Linked DNA regions of Homo sapiens: region 2 is linked to region 1. The links are contacts of gene promoters, found by promoter capture Hi-C in blood cells and fetal thymus (Javierre and others, 2016). All regions are on one chromosome and are shown on one strand. The core of a region is centred on a gene start or on the middle of the fragment in contact, and the rest is flanking DNA. Distances in the headings are between cores, read along the strand shown. Region 1 holds the start of CTIF (cap binding complex dependent translation initiation factor). Region 2 overlaps SKA1 (spindle and kinetochore associated complex subunit 1).

What was found. The method cuts DNA at HindIII sites, captures the fragments that hold promoters and counts their contacts. A CHiCAGO score of 5 or more calls a contact.
Region 2: a contact is called between a fragment that was not itself captured here and the fragment with the promoter of CTIF in region 1, in 1 of 17 cell types (activated CD4 T cells). The highest score is 6.5, in activated CD4 T cells.

What each region holds. Positions count from the first base shown.
Region 1 is chr18:48,537,781-48,542,425 of GRCh38, forward strand. CTIF (cap binding complex dependent translation initiation factor) reads left to right here and starts at 1,251. Exons shown (of 12, transcript NM_014772.3): 1 at 1,251-1,532. RefSeq lists silencers at 1,357-1,436, 1,937-2,296, 2,727-2,816, 3,137-3,616. The HindIII fragment of the contact is 7,178 bases long and covers 1-4,645 here.
Region 2 is chr18:50,378,698-50,382,747 of GRCh38, forward strand. SKA1 (spindle and kinetochore associated complex subunit 1) reads left to right here. Exons shown (of 7, transcript NM_145060.4): 3 at 1,429-1,553; 4 at 3,432-3,529. Among named protein-coding and RNA genes, the nearest start is that of SKA1, 5.7 kb to the left of the region's middle. The HindIII fragment of the contact is 2,899 bases long and covers 1,118-4,016 here.

The DNA.
Region 1 (4,645 bases), core at 1-2,500:
AAAAAAAAAAAATTGGCCAGGTGTGGTGGCGGGCGCCTGAAGTCCCAGCTACTTGGGAGGCTGAGGCAGGAGAATGGCATGAACCAGGGAGGCAGAGCTTGCAGTGAGCCAAGATCACGCCACTGCACTCCAGCCAGGGCAACAAAGAGAGACTCAGTCTCCAAAAAAAAAAAAAAAGAAAAAAAAACTTAGAAATTCTTTGCTCAAGTATCACTTCCTCCAGGAAGTCTTCCTGACCCTCTCCCAGACCCCACCCACCCTCCATCCAGTTGGCTGCTCCAGGTTGTGTGGTGGGGGGAATTTCACAGCACTTTGTGTTAAGCGCTGACTTATCCCTTGTATAATACTTTCATTGACTGTAGTCCCTAATACTGGACTGAGCTCCTTGAGCGCAGAGACTGTGAGTCTTACCTGTTTTGGCATTCCTAGACACACCTGGTCTGTGGAAAGTGCTCACTAAATGTGAATATAAACTAATGAATAAATGGGTTTCTACAGCAGTTTATACTGCATCACACAGTTCCTCTAATGAATTTCTAGCCCCCTTCCCTGTTGGGGCATACAGTATTTTATTCAGTATTTCTCCTGAAGGCCTCTCTGTGCCAAGCTCAGTTTTAACCAAAACATTGGTGATCTGGTTAAGTCATTACTGAATTATCCACTACGTTGAATTCTCCCAACCACCCCGTCCCAGCCCTTAGCTTGGCCGAAGGAAAATTAATTGGTTGCAAAGTGCGTATCTAATTACAACAGCCAGCCCCCGACACAGAGATGCTCAAATGTTAATTATAACATATGCATCTCAATAACCGACGGTGGCATTTAGTGCAGCATTAATCACGCCACTTGGGCCCCCCAGTGCATACACAAAGCTCCTTTTCATCTGCCATTAGCACAGACTTTGCACTTTCGGCACGGACGTTCTCATCCTTAAAGCCTTTCGGACTCTAAAACCAACGTTTCCCTGTAAGCCTGGACTGCGCCTAAGCCCCCAGTTCTCCCACCGCAGAGGCCCCCACCCAGGGCTGCGCCAGCGCCGTGGGGTCGCTGGGCGGCGGGTTTTGGCGTCGCTAGACTGGGCTGTCTTGGCAGCTAAGGCGACATCCCGAGCGTCCTGGGGCCACCCTGCTCTCCAGGGCCCGCCATCCTGGAAAAGAAAGGCGAACTACATTACCCAGCAGGCCTCCAGCCGCCCTCTTTCCTTTCAAGTCTTTGCACGTGGCCGGAGGGGAGGGCGGGGCCTGAACGTCACTCTCCTACATTCTCTTTCCCTGTGTCAGATCAGGGATCATTTTTTTTCCTTCCTCTACTCCCTCCCCCCTACCCGCCCCTCCCTCCCTGTTTCCCTTCCCTCCCTCCCTCCCCTCTCTGCTGGGTCTGTGCGCTGGGGCGCCCGATCCCCTCCGCAGCTGGGACGCTCCGAACTCGAGGCAGGAGTCGGCTCTCCGGAGCCTCGTCCCTCCCTTCCCCTTCCCTGCCCCCTTCCCCCACCCCCGACTCGGGCTTGGCGCGGCGGCCAGAGGAACCCCGAGGTGAGCATCTCCTCGCCCGTCCTCCTCTTATAGTCATCTCAGCTTGCTGATCGATTCGGGGACCCGGGAGGAGGGCTGCGTGACGTGGGCGTGCTTATAGATAAATCCGGGAAAACCGCCCCAAACAATCAGCCCCCTTCCCCCCATCCCTGCTCCTGGGCCAGCGGGGTGTCCGCACCCATCTACCATCCCCTCCTCCCCCTCGGTGGGGAACTGCACTCCACAGTGTCGCCCCCTCCCTGGGTTTGTCCCATTCCCTGCCGGGTTCCCCGCCCCGCGGGGTGTCGTGGCCCTGGAGCTCCGGCGCCAAGGGGGGCTCTTGGGGGACGCACGGCTGGAGCCCGGCTCGCTTTGGAGCTGCGCGGTGTAGCCGCTGTCATGTGCCGGGTTCCGACCTGGGAGGAGGAAAAGAGCGAGCGCGATTCCTCTCCCTTTTGTTTTGAAGCCCGCATTTGCTGCATCGAGCAGTTGGTTTAGTATCAGCCAAACTTGCAGCTGTTCAGACCGCGCTCCGCCGAGGTAGGGAGCCCGTCTCGGGGTGGCGTTTGGGGGCCGGGGGCTGCGGCACTCGGGGCTGCGGGAGGGACCCCGAGAGTGTGTCGCCACGCCGCCCCTCCCTTCCCCGGTGACTGATTGTGTCTGTGGCAGCGGGCGTGTGTGAGTGTGCGCGCCCGTCCCCGCGGGCTCGGGGATGTCTGTGGATGGCTGTCGTCTAGACAGGGCGCAGCCCCCTCCCTGCGTCCCCGGTGAGCCCGCGGGCCGCGGGGGGAGCGGGGGATGGGAGCAGAGGAAGAAACCAAATCGGTGGACCCGTTGCGGTCTCCCCTTTGGTTATTCCCAACGGTTGTGGTTCTGTTGGCTTTTTTTATTATTCCTGTCGCTGCGGTGCAATCGGGCCTGGGGAATAGATACGCCCGGCGGAGAGGGGTTCACTTGACAGGCTCTGAAAAGCCACCTCTGGGTGGCGAGTGACCCGAGAGGCCGTGGGGTGGGCTCCGGCTCGGGTTCATCAGGACGACGAGCAGGTAACTGTCCCGGGCGCCGGTCATGGGGGAGGGCGGGCGGGGGGGCGATGGCTTGGGCTGCGGCGAAGGTCTGGGGCCTCGGAGGGCCGCGTGCCGGTGCCTGGATGTGGCCGGAGGGGGCGTCCGGGACACCGCGCGCCTGAGCCGAGTGTTTCTCTATTGATGGTAAAAGACAATCGGGAGGGGGGTGGTCCGAGCCCGTTATCTGGGCGGCGTTGGCTCTGTTTGGTTCCGCGGAGTTTTCAGGGTTGGGGCTGGGGGGTGTGAGCACCGCGGGGTGTGCGGCGTGTAGAGGGGAGGGCTGACTGGCGGCGCCGCGTGCGTCTCCACCCCGAGGAGTGAGGCGTCGCCTCCCCCGCCCGGCTGTTTGTGTGTACACACGGCTCCGGTGTGTGTGGGGGGCGGGGACCGCAGACCGCGGCGTAGTGGGGACAAGCGTGGGCCCCGATCCTCCGCGCGACCTGTCCCGCCAGCCCCCTCCTTGTCTAAGTCGGGGTCGTGTGTCCCCGCGCGCGCGCGCCCGAGTTACTTGGAGAGGGGACCGTGCGGCTGTGGGCCGGGGAAGACCGTAGGGTCGCGTGTGCTGGTCTTCGGTGCAGGAGTCCCAGGTCCGCTGTGCGGCCGGAGTCACACAGCCCCTCCCTCCGCGTCCGCGACGCCCCGTGACCCGGCAGACTGGGGGTCCACCCGGCGGCGCGGGGGGTTGGTTTGGCTGCGCCGCCCCCAGTCCACGCTGGGGTGACCCCGCACCGAGGCGTTCTATGGGTGTGCGTGCCCGCGCTCGCCGCCGCTGCCTTCGCAGACCGGGGAGAGAGTCAGCGACTGCCAACCGCAGCCCCGGCTCTTCAGTCTGGGGACAGTGGGAGCCCAAGCCCAGCGCGCCCCAGCCCGGCCCAGGCCGCCGCCCGCCCGGCGCTGTGTCTCTGCGGCCCGAGGATTATCCCCCAGTCCAGGGGCCCGCGCGACCAAGGAGGAAGCCGCTGGAGCCGCCGGCTCGGCCGCGGCTAGAGCCTCCGTAGGGCGAAAGTGACACAGCGCGAGAGAGCGCCGCCGCTGCTGGAGCCAGGGCCGAGAGGAAGGAGCCGCCCAGAGCGCAGGGAGGGGCCGCCGGCTGTCCGTTCCCAGTTCCTCCTGCCCAGGGCCCGATCTGGGCTGAAAACCTCAGGAATCCAGGCTCCTAGCAGGCTCGGGCTGCGCGAGGAGATGGCCTGGCTTTCAAGAAAACCCAATTATACGTGAACAGAATGCACCGAACAGACGCTAGAGGATGGCCAGGACACGCTCAGGTTGTCTGGGGAAACTCCTGAGTGTTTGACACAGGATTCGATTTACACACAGATCACCTCATCTGTGTCAAGTATCTGTCCTGGATAATGGATGCTCAGAGGCAGCAATTTTGTAACACATTCTAGGGCACAGTGTCATCAGTGATTAACAGCTTGCTAGAATAATAATATGTTTGTATGACCTTACAGGGCAGGTTTTCTTCCCCCAGAACCTCCCCCCTCCCCCGCCAGATATCATAGCATTTATTAAGAGGGTCCTGTGAGGTAGGAGAGTATTAGCCCCATTTTACGGATGAACACACTGAGGCTCAAAAATGTGGCTTGCATAAGGCCTCTGGGTGGGGGAAGGGCCACATTCCCCCTTTTCTCAGCTTATGGCATTTAATTAATAGTGGCCACTTTTTTTCTGAGTATGGATTCTTGACACCTCAGGAAATACTGAAGCTAAAAAATAGAGTATATTATGCTGACACATATTCTTTCTCAAAACACTCTTGATTTGTTAACCATTCCTAATGAGAGCAGCCACTAAAGAACGGAAGTCTGCATTGCTGTTATTACCACGCATTTAATAATTTGCTGTTGGTGAATGGATAGCAGCTGTGATACATCCAGTTTCTACCAGAATCATATGTGCATATAATAAATGTATATGGTATGCCTGTTCATGTAACACTTACCTGTGTTTGTATGGCTGTGTTCATTGAGTCTTTATTGAATTCAAGGAGCAAAGAACTTATACATGCCTGCATGGATTTCTCAGAATTCATGCATGTGAAGGCTGTCAGACAGCCTGGAGGGT
Region 2 (4,050 bases), core at 1,317-3,816, 1.8 Mb after region 1:
TGGTAAACAACACCCTAAAATTTAGGTGACTAAAAGTTGAGATACCAGTGTATGGGGAAGAAATACTGTGTTCAACTAATTCTACTGAAATTATTCTCAGAGACATCAGTACTCTCATTTACTTATTAATTAGTTTTACTTGTTATGAGCTGAGTGTCAAATGCAAGTAGTGTTGCTCTATTAGATAGAATGATATACTCATGATGATGATGAATGGCAGTTAGCATTTACTGAGTATTACGTTCTACATGCAGGGCTAAGCCCATCTTATATGTACTTTCACCTATCTTCACAGTAATGAGGTAGGTACTTGGTGTCTCTGACTTCAGGCCTTCTACCTGGTTCACTCTACTGCCTCCTTAATCTACACATATTGCCAAAGTCTGCTTTTACTTATGTGTATGTCATTGTTAGATAGCTGGAAATGCAGATGGGAAGCTTCAATTATGAAGGTAGTTTTTCTTCTGTGCTTTTAATCTGCCCTTAAATTTTTTAAAAAACTACTTCTTTTATTTCTAGGGAGGAAGGGACTCTGATTTTCTCACCTAGAGAGGGGTGCTAGGAGGTGGGATTGGGACCATGAGAATATACTACTTTATAAATGTCTTATGTTTGTTTTTGCCAGGTACCCAGGGTTATCACCAGCTTGTGACTTTTTATGTTACTTTGTCTGCTTAGGGGTGGTTTTGAATAGTGTGGATAGTGTTAATATGAATTCCAAATCCATATTACAAATTCTGAAAGAGAGTTTCACCTCAACCTCACTCCCACCCCTTCCACACACACACTGAAGGGCCTGTCTAAAACATAAGCTTATTTCTCTGGTGAGTGATTACAACTTTCACTGAAAATATATTCATAAAGAAGAGTCCTAGCCTCGTTTGAGATTCTCACTTCCAACACCCTGTGTTTTAAAGCCCCAAAACCTTGGATCTTATCCCTATTAAAATCAAATATATTCAATTGCTGAGATTGACAACCTCCTGTCCAGCATTGCTCCACACTCCTCAGATTAGGGCTGCTGCAGCCTCAGCTCACACACCCTGCCTGGTATGAGGGGGAACCACAGTTCCCTCTTCATATTGGAACCCCTGGAAATTTGCCTTTTTCTCATGAAAGCTTAGCTGTGGACGTAGAAGGATGCTTGTTTTACCTCGCATTTCTAAGTGTTTTAATAAGTGGAAGAATTTGCCAGAAACAAAAGACGCAGGAGAGACATTGTCCTTGCCTCTCGCCTCCTTCTGTTCCATACTACTTAGAAATGAGGTTTCAGGATTGTCCATGGAGTCATTTTCTAGGGGCTAAAGCAGTAGACCTTTTTCCACCCCTCTCTAAGGTACAGCTATCTATTCTAAGAGTTCGCATGAGTACTTATAGCTACTGCTTTTCTATACACTTTGTTTTCTATTTTATTTTTGTTTATAACAGGCCAGGAACCTACCTTGAAAACTGTATTAAATAAAATAGGAGATGAGATCATTGTAATAAATGAACTTCTAAATAAATTGGAATTGGAAATTCAGTATCAAGAACAAACCAACAATTCACTCAAGGTAATGTTTCTCTAATGAGGAAGCAGTAAAAAAGACAATACATACAAACTCCCTAATCATTAAGTAATTTTTAAGGATGCTTTGTTTATAATGTTTTTTGTTTATAAATTATTAATGGTACAGTATGCCATTTATGTTTTATTTTCCTAGTATAGTGGAATTTGGAGCTCCACAGCTGCTACTTTCTGCTGATGGCCAGTGGAATTGAACTTTACTAAAAAGGAGAGTTTGCTAATAATTCTTGGTAGCTTTAATTTAAACAATGATGTTCTAGTAGAGTGGTATGTAAAGAACACCTGCTTTGGGTGAGGAGATATGGATTCTTACCTTGGTGGTCCTTGGTACTCTCTGCCACCCTGAGAAAGCTATTTTACCTGTTGGGGTTTCAAGAACCTCATCTGAAAAAATAATGGATCATATTGAACTGTTTCTTAGCTCCCTTATATGTCTATATTTCTATATTTTTATAAAAGGTAATATAAGGGTTCTCAGGTAAAGAAAAACTTGAGCCTCATTCACATGCACATTTTATTCTAAACAAGCCTTCAAATTGAGTTCAGCTAATAAAAGTGCTGGTGCACTTCCTGAGGGGGAAATAATCTGTACCATAATTACCTCACATTGTTAGAGCTGGGGAATTGCTCAGTGGGATTGAACAAGGGACCTCCCTGACCCCATTCAGCCTTATAATCCTTAAAGTCTGTAAAGATTGTTCAGCTATAGGAATGGGCATGATTATGCCTATCACTCTAATAGTCAAAATGGAATTGGTATCCATGAATGTCATTCACCTCTTCAAGGAAAAGACATTATATAAATTCAAAACAGAAACCAATACCGGCATTTCAGTTCTAACCTGCCCAAGAATGTCCAGGGTTAGGTGTGGGCCTAGAGAATGCTCAACTCAGAACTGAAGGCTATTTGGAATTTCTGTTCACATTGTGATTGGGAGCCAGATGGCGGGAATCCAAAGGCACAAAATATTTTCCTTATTAAAATGTGTATGAGTTCATAGCCTCAAGTTCTAGTAAAAGTTAGAGACCAAAACACCCCAGCTTTCAAGTAGAAATTTTCATTAAGCTGGCATGTAGGTAGCCCACAGTGGAAGTCATCCTAAAGCAGCATCTCATGCTTGCCAGCTGGGTATATTACCATGCTGTGATAATATGGTTGCTGTTACACAGGTAACACTGGGGAGCATTTGGTAAGCCAACAAACGCAATTTATGAGAATGAAAAACATAAGTTCTTTATATATTTCTTAGTTATCTCCCAAGATTAAAGTATTTGAGAAAGACTTAACTTTAGTCCTGCTTTGTAATTGCAATGTGATTATAGTGATTGTTCCCTGAAAAAAATCCAGTAGAGAAAAATATTACCACCATCCAAAAACAGCTCTAGAAACCAATTTTTTATTGCTGGATTCATTGCTTTTTCACTTCATTCTGCATTTTCGGTACTCCAGTCAATGTGGTTTTTTTTTTTTTTTTTTTTTGAGACGAGCCTTTCTCTGTCGCCCAGGCTGGAGTGCAGTGGCGCGATCTCAGCTCACTGCAGCCTCCTCCTCCCAGGTTCAAGCAGTTCTCCCCCCTCAGCCTCCTGAGTAGCTGGGACTATAGGCGCGTGCCACCACGCCCGGCTAAATTTTTGTATTTTTAGTAGAGATGGGGTTTCACAGTGTTAGTGGGGATGGTCTCGATCTCCTGACCTCATGATCCACCCGCCTTAGCCTCCCAAGGTGCTGGGATTACAGGCATGAGCCACCGCGTCCAGCCACAGTCACTGTGATTATGGTTCACTGTTTTCCCTGCTCTTTAGAATATCTTAAAACACACATGGGGAGGACAGAGACTTATTTGTGAGCACTTTTAAATTTTAGGAACTCTGTGAATCTCTTGAAGAAGATTACAAAGACATAGAACATCTTAAAGAAAACGTTCCTTCCCATTTGCCTCAAGTAACAGTAACCCAGAGCTGGTAAGTGTATTTATAATTATTCTTGCTATCTGGATTTATAAACCCATGAAAACAAGTTCTTCAAAGCCTTTTGTTCTTTCATATACTTGCAGTTTTGTCAGCGATGATCTAGTTTTTTGTCACCTATACTAAAAACAGTATTTCCATGTTCACCAGTTTTCTTATCTTGGTGTCTCTGAGGAAAATCTAACACTTCTTTCCCAGTTTGCCAAGGGCAAGTCTCTCTAGCCTCTCTTTTTTCACTCATTTCTTTCCCTGAGAGCAGTTTGTCAACTGACGTTTGTTCCTTGACATTTTAGGCAGGTTAATTTTTTGTTATGAGAATAGGACATTGAGTAGTGTTCTTGATCTCTGCCTACTAGATTCTGGTAGCATCCCTCCATCCCACCCATTCACGACAATGAAAAATGTCTCCAGACATTGCCAAATGCCTCTGAGGGCAAAATCTTCCCCGACCATTGAGAACCACTGCCTTTGGGTAAAAATAAGCTTAAGGAAGTTACCATTTTAAAAATAGCTAA